Linked DNA regions of Homo sapiens: region 1 is linked to region 2. The links are contacts of gene promoters, found by promoter capture Hi-C in blood cells and fetal thymus (Javierre and others, 2016). All regions are on one chromosome and are shown on one strand. The core of a region is centred on a gene start or on the middle of the fragment in contact, and the rest is flanking DNA. Distances in the headings are between cores, read along the strand shown.

Region 1 (7,078 bases), core at 4,395-6,894, 290 kb before region 2:
TAGAAGAGGCCTAAAAAGCAAATTCTTATTTTCTATTTTATCCCAAGGTGGTCTTAGATAGGATGTAGTGGGGCATGATGGACAGTGTGAAGCAATAGATTCCCCACTAGAAATAAATCACATTGAGGGGGAGGGAAAATGCCATTAGGCTGTACTTTGTTCTAACAAAAAGGTCAAGTGAGAATTCCCAGGGGTTCACTTCAGTGATGGCTCCCTTCCTCCCACTCCTGACAGAGCAGGTCTCCACTCCAGAAATTAAAGTTTTAAACAAGACCCAGGAGAACGGGACCTGCACCTTGATACTGGGCTGCACAGTGGAGAAGGGGGACCATGTGGCTTACAGCTGGAGTGAAAAGGCGGGCACCCACCCACTGAACCCAGCCAACAGCTCCCACCTCCTGTCCCTCACCCTCGGCCCCCAGCATGCTGACAATATCTACATCTGCACCGTGAGCAACCCTATCAGCAACAATTCCCAGACCTTCAGCCCGTGGCCCGGATGCAGGACAGACCCCTCAGGTGAGTACACTGGTGGCAGCCTGTGTGCCACCTTAATGAGCATGGGCTCAGTCTTCACATGGTCCAATTGCTCCCCAGCCATGGCATTCACCTTAGTAACAATACTTTACATTTTCTTTATAGTTTGCAAAAGTTTACCATGTGCATTTAGTGAGCTCACTCTCATATTGACCAGGGTGGCATTTTTATGCTCAGTTCACAGTTGACGAAACCAACAGGAGGTGATAGAGACAGACCCAGAGCCTAAGTCTCCAAGGCGTAGCCTTCTCTGCCTCTTGCCTTGACTCCAACCTGCAAGGTTGGCTGGGTGAGGGATTGCAGGTGGGAGGGCCTGGCTCCCAAGTCTATGCTCCACTAATGCTGGGGCAGTTCTACACCGTCAATTAGTATTTACTGATCACCTACCTGGTAAGAAATTGTGAATAAATATGATATGTGATCTCTCCTCTCTAACAATTCATTGTAAAGATAAGACGTAAAACATTGCTTAATAATGAAACACAGGATATAGTGAAGGTCCTCGTTTTATGGAATGGACTGTGAATCCCATAGCAGGGCCAGGGGAGTCAGAACGAGAGACTAAGACCTGGACTGTGAAGTTTGAGGAAAAATAATAAATTGCACAGCGCTTCATCATTAGCAAAGCACTCTCAACTGTGTAATCTCTTTTGATCCTCACAATAACCTTGCCAGATAGGTGTTATACTTTCATTTTACAGATGAGGAAATTGACGTTCATACCATTTAAGTACCCTCTTCAAGTTTCTTTGGCATGTAGATAGTGGAGTTAACCCCTAAACCTACATCTTCTGACTGTTCTTCCTCTAGAAAGAAAAGCATCATTATTCTGTCAGCAAAAGGAAGACAGAACTTACTAAGTAAGCCCATTTAACCACTTGGATACAGGACAGAACACAGGCCCTTTTCACTAACAGATCTTGTGTCCCTGCCTCAGGCAGGTTCAGGGACTGTAGGACCAGGGTGTTGCTCTGCAAGGCATTGCTTACACCCTGACATTCTCCTCTCTGCATCCACTGGGGGGACATAGGAATCGTTCCAATGGGTCTTCTGCCTACAGTAGCCATGGTGTCCATGTGGAGGGCTTTCCCAGGTGGTCATGGTTGAGGGACAGGGGAACTCAGCCAAGTAATGCCCTTCCACATAGCACTGCCTGTCACAGAGACTCCCCTGGAGTATTCCCAGATGGACTGCTGGGAAAATCCCACCTGGCCTCCAGTGTGCCCCTGGAAGTTCTTGAATGAGTCTAACCCCCTGCATGTTTCCTCCCCAGACATTTCATAGCCAGAGTCCCCCGTCCTCTCACTTACTGGATATGTCTGGCTGCTTGCCCACCTTGCATACAAACCACATTCAGAGGCTACCCCCCAGTTCAGAGCGCTCTCCCCACCCACAGTCATTTAGAAGGTGCTGGCAGGACAAGCAAGCTGTGCAGCATAGTGGGTAGCTTACAGAATGTGACCCCGGAAGTCCTAGAGCCAATGCTGCCCTTTCTACTTACAAGGGCAAGTGCCTCAATCCCTCTGAGATTTAGATTCTTCATCTCTAAATAACAGCAACTGGCGGGTCATCATGGTTTACTATGTGCCAGTTATGTGGCATCTCAGTTAATCCTCACAGCAACAAAATAATATTGATAGTATCCCCACTTCACAGATGAGGAAACAAAGCTATAACATGGTTAAGTAAGGTCACACACAGAGCAAGTGATGGAGCTAGGCTTTCTGATTCTGGAAGCCTCATAGGCATTAGTGAAAGAGATAAAGCACTTAAAATGCCTTATAAACCATAATAAAAATGTAATTTTTATTATAAAAGCTACAAAAATATAATGTATTTTTTAATTGTAAATGAGGAAGCAGTAGCCCTTACCTCAGCACAGCCCTCTCTGGGTATAGCTGCCCTATTAGAGTACAAAAACAGGGCACTGAATATTTTACCCTGGCCTAACCCAAAAAAGGGGCAGAACTTTCTTCATGCTCCTCAATGTAGTTTAAAAAGAATTTAATTAGGGCATACCAAAGTGTTGGTGGGCCATAAAGCTTATACTAAGGGCACTCAGCTCAGGACGTTCTAAGAAAACATGTGAAGATGGACTTACCCATCTAAGCCACTCTGAGGACCAAGAATGCACCAGTGGGAACCAGATTTACTGAGTAGGAAGCTGGTTCTTGTGAGGAGTGGAGGGACAGGAAGCAGTAGAAACCTGGCACCACAGGAAGGGCCCTGTCAGGATCTCGGCTCGGTTTGTAAGAGAACTGTCCAGCCGTTCCCCTCTCTTGGGTCTCTGTTTCATCCCCAGTAAAATGAAAAGGGCGAACAAATGAAGTCCCTCCCAGAGTAGACAGTCCTTGATTCAGTGTGTGTGTGTGTCAATAAGAACTGCCAATAGAGGCTTGCCACTGTGTATGAGTTTGCTAAGGCTGCTGTAACAAAGGACCACACACTGAGTGGCTTAAACAATCAAAATGTATTGGCTCTCAGTTCTGGAGGCTAGAAGTCTAAAGTCAAGGTGTCAGCAGGATTGTTCTTCTCTGAGGGCTGTCAGAGAAGGATCTCTCCCAGGCGCCTCTCCCTGGCTTGTAAATGGCTGTCTTCTCCTTGTCTCTTCATATCATCTTCTCTCTATGTGTATTTCTGTGTCCAAATTTCCTCTTCTCATAAGGACAACAGTCATATTGGATTAGGGCCCACCTGTCTCAGTTTGCTAGGGCTGCCATAATAAAGTACAACAGATTGGGTGGTTTAAATAACAGAAATTTATTTTTCTCCTGGTTCTGGAGGCTAGAAGTTTGAGGTCAAGGTGTTGGCAGGTTTGGTGTCTTCTGAGGCCTCTCGCCTTAGCTTGCATATGGCTACCTTCTCACTGTGTTCTCACCTGGTCTTTCCTTCGTGTACTCACACCCTGATCTCTCTCTCTCTCTCTTTCTCTTTCCTGGTGTCTCTTTGTGTGTCCAGATTTCCTCTTCTTATAAGGACACCAGTTAGGTTAGATTAGGGGCCACCCTAATGACCTCATTTTAACTTAATAACCTTTAAAGACCTTGCCTCCAAATACGGTCATATTCTGAGGTCCTTGGGGTTAGAGCTTCAACATAGAAATTTGGGGGAGGGGAGACAAAATTCAGCCCAAAACATCTCCCTAATGACCTCAGTTTTACTCAATTAACTCTGTGAAGACGCTATGTCCAAATAAGGAAATCAACATATGAATTTGGGAAAACACAATTCAACATGTAATAAAAGTAGAGATGCCTCCTCCCCACCCTGCCAGCCTGCAGGGATAGGGGACCAGACCTTCCCTGCCTCAGAACCAGATCACACAGCTGGTTTGTGGCCTGCCCTGCGCAGTATACCAGATTGCCTAAATACTGAAAACAGAATTGTATCAGTACCTTGATTTGTGTTTGCGCATGAATAACGAATACTACCAGTTCTTAAAACACTGCACTTAGTTTGACAAAACATTTACACTCTACATTGTGCTAGGGGCCAGTACACAAAGATAAAAAAGACATGATCCTTGCCTTAAGGCAGAAGACAGCTGTATAAGTAAACAATGATCCGAGATTAGACAGTGTGACGGATGTAAAATGGAAATATATGCAAGGCAACAAACAGGAGGGAATTATTAACACTGTCTCGGGGGATTAGAGAGAGCATCCCAGAGAATGTGACATAAACTGGGTTTTAAAAATAAGTAGAAATTACCCAAGCTGATGAAAGACATTCCAGGCAGAGGGAGGAGCAGATACAGCTGGGTCTTGCTCTGTATTATCTTGTAGGTGATAGGAACTAATAAAGAGTTTTAGATAGAGGAGTGACACCATCAGTCTTGCTTTTCAAAGAGGAACTCCAGTAGTATAGAGAACAGACTGGGGCAGGGAAGTGGGGAAGAAAGAGAAACCAGTTCCTGGGGGCCATTATTGCAGTCATCCATCAAAATGATGGGACCCGAGCCAAAGCAGCAACTGTCAGTTAACAAAGACATTTTTCCTAGGGCATACAAAGGAAAACCCCAGCCTTGGGATGAAAGGGTGGGGTCCGAGGGTTTATTAGAGGTTGCTTTGCCATCTGTCATCAGGACAGTGATTTTAAGACATTTTTCATTTTCATTAATGAAAACCTCACAGCGGTTAATGGTGTGATGAGACGGAATGCAATGTGATGTGAGCACTGAATCTTGACAGGACTCACTTAAGCGAAACTGTGCAAAAACTTATATGTTCCTTGAAATCTTTTTCTTTAGGTGACATTTGTTCAGGTCATGTATTCATCCTTGTTCCAATTGCCATTTCAGTGTGTTAATGTCTATCATAATGAAGCATCTTTATTGCAAAGTCCAATTCTTAGGGTGCTATGAAGTACTCTGGCTAGGTCATGTGAAGCCAGTGGATGTGGGTCAGCTGTGGACAGTGTGTGACTTGCTGCCATCCTCGATGACTGTATTCTGAAATAGATATGGCTGTGCTAGAATGAAGGAATCTAGAAAGGAATGCCCCTGGAAGCTCATCTTGAAGAGAGGATCTTTTTCAGCAGATCAGCAAACCGCTGGCTCAGCACCTCTGAGTTAGCTCAGTGAAAGAAAAGGCTGACGCCTGCCAGTGAGCTCCGGAGGCTTCCCCTTTCTAACAAGGTCATTTCTTCAAATAGGGAGTTCCCATTGTTTCAGAGTCACTTAGATGTTCCAGGCACTAAGACAGGTCTCTCTCTAGGGTCTTCCCAATTTAGCGAGCGTAAAAACAATGGTGGAAAGGAAAAACCTGGAAACTTTGCACAGCCCAGAGCCTGGTCATGGGCCACACCCGCTATAAGGGAAGCTGAGACACATAGCTCCTAGCTGAGCAGCTACATGCCCAGAAAAGACTCGTATTACCACGAAAGCATGAGCGCAATCTCACTGGAGCTAGTAGCCTCTGCAATGCTGGGTGGGATAGGCAGGTTGTAAGTGATTTTTCTGGAAGCTGTGAACTCCGTAAAAATGTTTACTTGGATGGTCCCAGAACTTAAATTAGTATATGGTTCATGAGGATCCTTCCCCACCCCCAGTTCTGAATGGAAACTGCCACGAACAAGAATGTATCTCTTGAAGATGGCAGCCTTTGCTGACAGAACCACATGAAAGGCAGGAAGGAGATCCGGCACGCTCCCACCGTTACGCTAACGTCGCAGTATCTCCTAGGTGAACTGCATTTGTTTCTCAGATTCTTTTTAGTTTTCTTTTTCATCTTCCCTAAAAAAAATATTAATAATAAGATTTTGGGACTTGAGAAGAGAGAGAGAGAGAGAGACACGCTTCTGTGTTTCTGTGACAACACTTTCAGAGACAAGAAAAAAAACGCCCTCTGGCTTTTTCCTTGGATGTGTGACTGTCTGCCAAGTTATCACGTTTAAACCACAGACAATAGGTGGAGAGGGCCCAGGGTGGAGACTCGAGCAAAGCACTCTTCCCAAATGGCATGTGAGTTATTGACCAGCCTGCTCGGCCGCCTCTAAGAGCCTCGGGAGTAGGGGGAGTTCCAAACCTCTGGTTCAGAAATGTTCAGGTAGCATTTCTTTGTGAATGAAGGAGTCAGGAGCTTCTAGACCCCAAGACAACTTTGATTTCTCAGCATCACCATCCAGAGAGGCCTCACTACATGACTGAGCAAAGAGAAGAAGAGCTGGAGCTTCTGCCACAGGAAATGGTGGTTTGAAAATGGGAGCACAGGTGAAGCGCCGATGGCACAGACACACACTTGCCTCCTGGCTCCATCTTGTTATTGTAAAGTATAAGCCAAGTGGGTCACTTCTCCTTCCCTTTGATTCCTGCCTTGGGCCATTCAGCAGGTGACCCTGCATTCCTTCTGGTAATTTTTAAACAGAAAGCTACGTGACAGTCTTTTTCTAGATCCATTTTTGTGGACTCTCATTTAATTTAACTTAGTTCATCGAGTGCATATTGAGTGCCCTCCTGCCCTATATTGTTTCCGGTGGAATGGAGGATACAAATAAAGAATAAGGTACAGGGCCTACCTTCATGGAATTTGCAATCAAAGTGGGACTTCTACATCTTACTAGCTAGAAAAATATAATATTTAAAGAAACATATTATAATCAAGGAACTGCTACTAGAATTCCTCTTTGAAAAGGAATTGTATTTGTTTATGATAGTACCTTAATAAATGCTAGAAGGCAGGTGGAGACCCCCCAGGAATCTGGGTGTGGGTTGGATGGTTCTGTATGAGAATGGAGGAAGATGATACTTGTGCAGAAATGGGAAGAGAAAGAGAGAGTCTGAACCTGCTAGGTGGTGAAAGCTGCCTGGTTCACAATGGAATTTGCTCCCTGGGACCCTTCAATCTTCAGCAGAGAACTTAAACCCACAAAATTATTGGTGTAAGTTTTTAAAAAAAAGTTTTTTTGGTTTGTTTGTGGAAACTGATTGTATTAGTCCGCTCTCATCCTGCCAATAAAGACATACCTGAGACTGGGTGATTTATAAAGGAAAGAGGTTTAATTGGCTCATAGTTCCACATGGCTGGAGAGGCCTCACAATCAT
Region 2 (7,117 bases), core at 217-2,716:
GGAAGATAAAAAGTGTTAGAAAAATTTGAGAGACACAGGTACTAGCTTCTATCGTGTCATTAACCTGAAGTATGGCTTGGGTAAATCATTTAATATCATACTTTCTAAAATGAGATTAAAGTCCATTCTTCTGATTTCTTGGGCACACACTTATCGTAACAGATACATGTTCTACATGGCACCCAGCTATGTGCCTCAAAGGGTTATTACAAAGTCCATGTAGCGCCATTGACAGTGACACTAAAAGAGAGAAAACTTGGTCAAAGGAAAGGTGTTTGACCTTAGATTTGCCAGATTCTGGTTGCACAGGTGATCACACTTCTGCTTGTATATCCTGTATGTATATTACTAATTGGTTAATACACAGGTGCTGGGCTAAGAAAACTTTCTGAGGCATTTTTCCAAGAGTGTGAACAGAATTGAGAGAAACCTTATGACATACACGGGTCAGTTAATTTAACATCAGCAGGTCATTTGTGTGCCCACAGTGTGGGGCAGCTGTAGTTTCTCCTTTGAGGATCCTTAAAAACAATGTGAATTGGGGGAAGGCACAGTCATAGTTATATACAGGCATTTGCATTTTAGGGCTTGACCAACTAAAAAGCCATGTATCAGTAAATGAACGCGTATCAGCAAACACTTAAGTACATTATAAATGCCAAAAGTTCCTTGAATTGTTACTTCAGGGTCTTCACAGTTAAGAGTACCCATATCCTACCTTATTCTTGCTTTACTGATTAAAAAAAAAAAAAAAAAAAAAACCTGAGGCAAGGCAGGGGGACACAGACTTAGGATGTAATCAACAGAGGAAGAAATAAGAAATCCACCTTTTAAGCGCCGCACAGCACCCACAGAACAAGATTGCTTTCGTCTCAAAAAGTCTAAACGCGAGGAAGAAAGCTAACTTTCACACCTGTTCCTTTCGACTGTGGGGTGGGTGGCTGGGGTTGTGGGAAAAACGAGACATCTGGACAAAGTGGGAGAGGGTCAGGCTCGAAGTCCAGGAAGAGGCCTAGAGAAGGGAGTGAAGCGACACGACGTGCTGCGGGGGAGAAGGGACCTTCAGGTCCAGGCAAAGGGGGAACTTCTGTCGTGGGAACGAAAAAGAAAGAGGATTTACAGGGTGGGGGGACAGAGGGGCAGCAGGAACCAGAAGGGAGACAGTGGCGGTCGCGGCGGGGCCGATCCGAGAGTTCCCCTTAGAGAACGGAGCTCACGGGCGGGGAGGCCTCACCTGCTAGTAGGACGCAGAAAGACAGAAGGCGAAGGAGACCCCGACTTCCCGGGTCAGCCCCAGAGCCACCCCCTGCCGTAGCCATCTTGCCTCTCTGCTGAGCGGAAGCCCCCGTTCGGCTCCTGTCTGTTAGCGGCCTCTCTAGGCTACCACTGACACCGTCTCTGTGGCCCGGAGCCTAAGAGACCGGAAGTTCGTGTTTCCAGGCGCTTCCGGAAACCGCGGGAGAGGGTCGCTGACGTGGAGGCGTCCGAAGGGCAGCAGGGTGTGTCGGGGCTCGGATTAAGACATCGGAGTCGGAGACCTGAGAGATGTTAACCAAATTCGAGACCAAGAGCGCGCGGGTCAAAGGTAGTGGAGAATAAAAGGGGGAACATGGAGGTTGGATGTCAGGAGCGGCGCTGACACCGGGGAAGAGAAAATGGGTAGAGGTGTTGGTCGAAATGGGCCCACCAGACGGACCCGGAGGAAGACGGAGGGTGGGAGAGAGGTTGGGCCTGGCTAGCGGTTCTCCAGTCCCCTCTTCTTTGGTGTGTCCTTGGGCTTCGATTTACCTATAAAGTGGCTCCCACACTGCAGGGGATTCCTTAGACCCCCTCCCTATTCTTTCTTCCCCCTTTCTCTCTTGGCTGTGCTCCCGATTTGTGTTGTTCTGCTCCAAAGGCCCTGTGATCTGTTGGCTTTTTGATGACTGTGTTATATGGAGTGGCCCTGGGAACTGAGTCTCGATCTCTGTTACTCGCACCCGAGTCAGTAGCCTTTTTGGAGACGAGTAGTGGCAACCTCACTTAAGGAGGCCTTGGCTGCAGCATCTCAACATCAGTGCCTCCATTCGGCTTTATTTACTACCCGGAAATAGTACTTGAGGCTTATAACCCCAATAAAGTCTCAACTTGATAGAGTTGCCAGATAAAATGCAGGATACCCAGTTAAATTTGAATTTCAGGTAAACAATGAATAGTTTTTTAGTCTGTCGTTGCTTACCAGAAGTTCAAATTTATCTGGAAATCTCGTATTTTTATTTGCTAAGTACGGCAGCTCTAGAGCTCGAGTGTGGGTCGTTGGGGGTGGAGGGCAAATACTGAGATCGCAGTATTAGCCTCAGAACGTTAGAATGTGAAAGTCAGAGAAGTAAGGTCTCCGAAGACCTGGAAAAAATAGTATCTAGAATATTTAGTGAGATGCAGCGTAACAAAGTGGTTAGGAACTTGGTCTTTGAAGTCAGATGGGCTTGCCTTGGAATCCTGAGACATCCACTAACAAGCTGTGACTTGGATGACTTACTTAATGTCTCTAAGTCTGTATTTCCTCATCTGTAAAATCGTCTTTTATAGAGAGTATTAAAATGAGAAAGTATATGGAGTGTATTTATTACAGCGCCTGGTGTAGACTCAGTAGCTCAAAAACTGGAGGTTGTTATCAATGTGTGAATATATTCTGAGCAGTTTCTAAGTCTCTTGGGAAACTTGACCTTGAAAGATGGGTACCATTAAGAATTTCTGAGACCTGTATAGGTGAAATGTGAAATGGGTCTTCATAATCTTTCAGTTTTCTTTTCTGCTCCTAATTTCTTGCTGGGCAGTACAGAAGGAAAAACAAAGATGTCATAATATTTGAGGGCAAACATCCATTGTTGAGTGTACTTATATATCATAATTAAAAAAAAGAACCTAATGGAAAAATAGACAATTTAGAAGAAAAATTGTAAATGTTCAATAAATAATTAAAATAGTTCCACCTCACTAGTAATGAAAGAAATGCAAGAAAAAAAAAGTTAAGTTACTTTTTTGGGGGGAGGGTCTTAGATTTATAAAACAAAACAACAAATAGCTGATAGCAGCCTGTGTGCAAAATGGGCACCTCCATAAACTTCATGAGACTGTATATTGATACAGTGTTTTTACATTTAAACTATATGTACTAAAATGTTAAGTGCACATATTCTATTCCTGAGCAATCTCACAGGTCTTTAGCCTAGGGCAGTAATAATGCAAATAGGCTAGATTATGTGTAGAAGTATCTTCAGTAGGCTCTTCTGATAGCCAAAAATTGGCGGACAAAATGCCTGTTAGAATAATATAAGTGTAGTACATTTGTCCCTTGTAGTTAAAAAGAATGAGGTTATGTTTATATGTACTTCCATGAGATCCATATTATATAGTTAAGTGAGGAAGAAGTTTGCAGAACAACATCATAACGTGATCCCCACTTTCATAAAATACTAAAGCCTATGTCTATGTGTAACTGCATTAAAAATCTGAAAGGATACACTTCAAACTGTTAGTAGTTGTTACCTCTGGGGACTTCCATTTCCAGTCATGATAGAATAACAAGAGCCAGATTTACCTTCCCACCTTAACTATACAACTGAACAAAATGTATGAAACAAAGGTTCATACATTGCTCACAGATGTTGGGCAACAGGCAGTGCAGGAAAATAATTCTCCAGAGAAGGCAAATAAACAAGGTGAGTCCTGTGATTGTCGTAGATTACTGCCTAGAGAGTTTTTAGGCTTCAGTGAAGAGGGGAATCCCTTGGTCTTTCTGAGGAGACATAAATTTAGAGTGTGGGGAAGCAAAGATGGCTAGATTTTGTTGGGCAAAATACCGGAGAAGAGGGGGCTGCAGAGAGAGAGCACTAGAGATCTGCAGGATGTCTTCTCAGGTCTTTGTTTGAGTACTGATCTGCATGTGAGAAAACTATTCAAAACCTGAAAAAGGACCACTGGAAAGGAGAAGGCAGAGCAATCCCCAGAGTTCACACTAGTGAACTGGGACTAGTTTGTGTTCCTACTTGCCAGAAAGGAAAGACTTCCTAATATTACAGGGCTTCAAATAGAGACCTCAGATGGCTATTGCTTTAATAGTGGTTCCAGATTAAGCCTAGAATGAAGGCTGCTGTAGCCCCTCTGTAATAAAACCTAAAAGCAAGCCTTGAAAGGATCAACTGATTCCAAGTAACTTAATTGTATCCTAGAGCAAAGCCCAAGAATATGTAAAGGAATATGACAAAAATCTAGTACCAAACATAAAATTCACGATGTCTGGCATCCAGTAAAAAATCATCAAGCATGTCGAATGAATGAACCTAGGATTAACCTTGATGTTTCTTTTTCTTATCAGAATTGACAGAAGGTGACATCATGGGGCTTAGTTAGCTCATTGTATCATTTTCTATTTTTTTCAGGGCTCAGCTTTCACCCCAAAAGACCTTGGATCCTGACTAGTTTACATAATGGGGTCATCCAGTTATGGGACTATCGGATGTGCACTCTCATTGACAAGTTTGATGAACATGATGGTGAGATATTTCTAGGAGGAAGTTAAAGGAGTATAAGTATTTATAATATCCTGGGGTATTTTAAGCCTTGTTTGACATGGATTCCTCTATGATTAAAGAATGTGGAAATGATAGAACTGAAAAATCCTGAATAGGAATCACCTTAGAGATTAGAAAGGATAGCTCTGTCTAACATACATTGCCTGCCTTCTCCACCAGGTCCAGTGCGAGGCATTGACTTCCATAAGCAGCAGCCACTGTTCGTCTCTGGAGGAGATGACTATAAGATTAAGGTACAGAGGGTCTGTCATAACTGAGAATAAAGGAAAGAGGATGTGGGAAGGTTTGGGAATCATGAAAGGAACTGAAAGACAGGAAATTTCATTCATACAGAGCTCAGGCCTTTGACAACATTATCCGGAGAACTTACTCAGCAAACATTTATTGAATGCTTACTGTGTACCAGACACTGTTTTCTTTTTAGGGAATTCAAAAATAAATAAGAAATGGCTTCTGTTTTCAAGGAGCTTTTATTCTAATACAGAAGATAAACATATATCCAAGTAATAGCATGTACAGTTTGGTAAGCAATATAATAGAGAGATATTCACAGTGAAATAGGAAAGAGCAGTATAGGTGCAAAGACAAAAAGCATGACACAGCTAGATACAGGGCAGCTGTTATTGGTTTTGTATGGAGAAAACCTGGAGAAATGGTGAGAGAAGGGGCAGAAGATGAGAGGGGCCAGATCATGGAGTACCTGTTTGTGGCGCTCAGGAGTTTAGATGTTATCATGCAGATAACTAGGAGCCATTTGAGGAACTTAAATACAGGAGTGATACCAGATTTATATGTTTTTAAAATGATTACTTGGTGGTAATTAAAGAAAAGATTGGATGATTTGGGCAAGACAGGAGGCAAAAATACCAGTTAGGAAACCTGAGCTTAGGTAGTAGCATTTGAAATGGAGAGAAGGAGATGGATGTGAGAATTTAAGGAAATGAATCAGTGTGTCTGTTGGGTGATGGCCAATAAGGAGAAATAAATGAGATGGCCAATAAGGAGAAATAAGGGCCAATAAGGAGAAATAAATGAGCTGACTTTCAGGCTTCTAGTTTAGGTCACTGGGTAAAGGGGGTGTCATTAACTAGGAAAGGAAAATCAGGAGGAGATAGTTTTCTGGAGTGGAAGAGAATGGATAATGAATTCCATCTTGTCTCTGGTGATTTTGAGGGACCTAAGGGACAGTCTAGTTGAGGTGTCTGTGCTAGAAATATATTTGTGATTTGTCGTCATGAAGGGAGGAGCCAAAGGAGAAGCAGTAGAAGATATTGCTCAAGGAGTACGTTGAATAAGAAGACAGACCATCATTTAAGGGAGAGAGAGGAAGTAGAGTTAGTATGGGAAACAGTGATTCGAGGGGTTCGAGATGAACCAAGAGGGAGAAGAAGCCTCTTGGATGCCAAGGAAGAAGAGAATTTTGGGAAGGAGAAAGTGTTCAGAATAAGATCAAGATTGAGAAATAACCTTTGAATTGCTTAATTTGGAAGGCCTTAGTGTGAAATGAGGAAGCAGACAGAATATAGGCAATTCTTTAAAGACAACTGACTATCATAATAGCAAAAGTTAGAGCCAGAGACTAGCAACCTATAAAAATAAATCAAAATTTCCTCTGTTTACTTCCTTTAGTTGTTTTCATTAAGTCTATGTGTCAAACCGAACCAGTGAAATTTAATTCATAAAAAGGTAAAGTCTTTTCATAAGCAACTTCAAGAAGTTATATATTGTGATTATACCGCAGAACTTAGGTGATGGGAGTAAAGAGTGACAGCTGCCTACAGAGAAAAGAGCTATTAGAATTATAGGAAGGACATTTCTTTCTGTTTTCTAGTTTTTAGGCACCACATCCTGGGGCAATCAAAACTCAAACCACCTGACAGATCTCAAAAGCCCATAAGGATATCACCTCATTATAGTATTTTTGTATTTGTTATTTATAGTGATGAACATTGAGTATCAAGAATGGTTAACTTGGGATTCTTATAATCTGTTTAAAAAGGAAAAACTGGGTGTTAATTAAGAAAAAGTTTTCCCAAAATGACTAATATTTTGGAAAAGAAATTATCTTCCACTTATGAAATGTCCAGAATAGGTAAATCTATAGAGACAGAAAGTAGGTTAGTGATTGTCTAGGGTTGGAGGGGTTGGGAGGAAATGAGAAGTGACAGCTAATGGGTATGAATTTCTTAGGGGAGTGAATAAAAATGTTCTAAAATGGATGGTTGCACAACTGTGAATATATTAAAAGCCATTGAGTTTTATACTTTATATGAATAAATTGTATGGTATTTGAACTGTATCTCAATAAAGCTGTTATTAAAACAAAGGAATTCTTTATTAGCTGGTAGGTGTGTAGTGCTATCATTTGGTGGGTTTTTTTGGTTTGTTTTTTGTTTGTTTGTTTGTTTGTTTGTTTGTTTTTTGCGATGGAGTCTTGTTCTGTTGCCCAGGCTGGAGTGCAGTGGCGTGATCTCGGCTCACTGCAGCCTCCACCTCCCGGGTTCAAGTGGTTCTCCTGCCTCAGCCTCCCGAGTAGCTGGAAT

What was found. Contacts are between HindIII fragments. The CHiCAGO score rates a contact against its expected background, and 5 or more counts as called.
Region 1: a fragment that was not itself captured here is called in contact with the fragment with the promoter of COPA in region 2 in 6 of 17 cell types (naive B cells, total B cells, fetal thymus and 3 more); the score reaches 11.9 in naive B cells.

What each region holds. Positions count from the first base shown.
Region 1 is chr1:160,628,054-160,635,131 of GRCh38, reverse strand. It overlaps SLAMF1 (signaling lymphocytic activation molecule family member 1), which reads left to right. Exons shown (of 7, transcript NM_003037.5): 3 at 235-519. Among named protein-coding and RNA genes, the nearest start is that of SLAMF1, 15 kb to the left of the region's middle. RefSeq lists an enhancer at 5,383-5,472. The HindIII fragment of the contact is 6,126 bases long and covers 2,582-7,078 here.
Region 2 is chr1:160,337,599-160,344,715 of GRCh38, reverse strand. COPA (coat protein complex I subunit alpha) reads left to right here and starts at 1,466. Exons shown (of 33, transcript NM_004371.4): 1 at 1,466-1,585; 2 at 4,422-4,535; 3 at 4,734-4,807. The coding sequence starts at 1,546. NCSTN (nicastrin) reads right to left here and starts at 1,333. Exons shown (of 17, transcript NM_015331.3): 1 at 1,235-1,333. The coding sequence starts at 1,319. RefSeq lists enhancers at 1,264-1,313, 586-1,533. The HindIII fragment of the contact is 9,711 bases long and covers 1-7,117 here.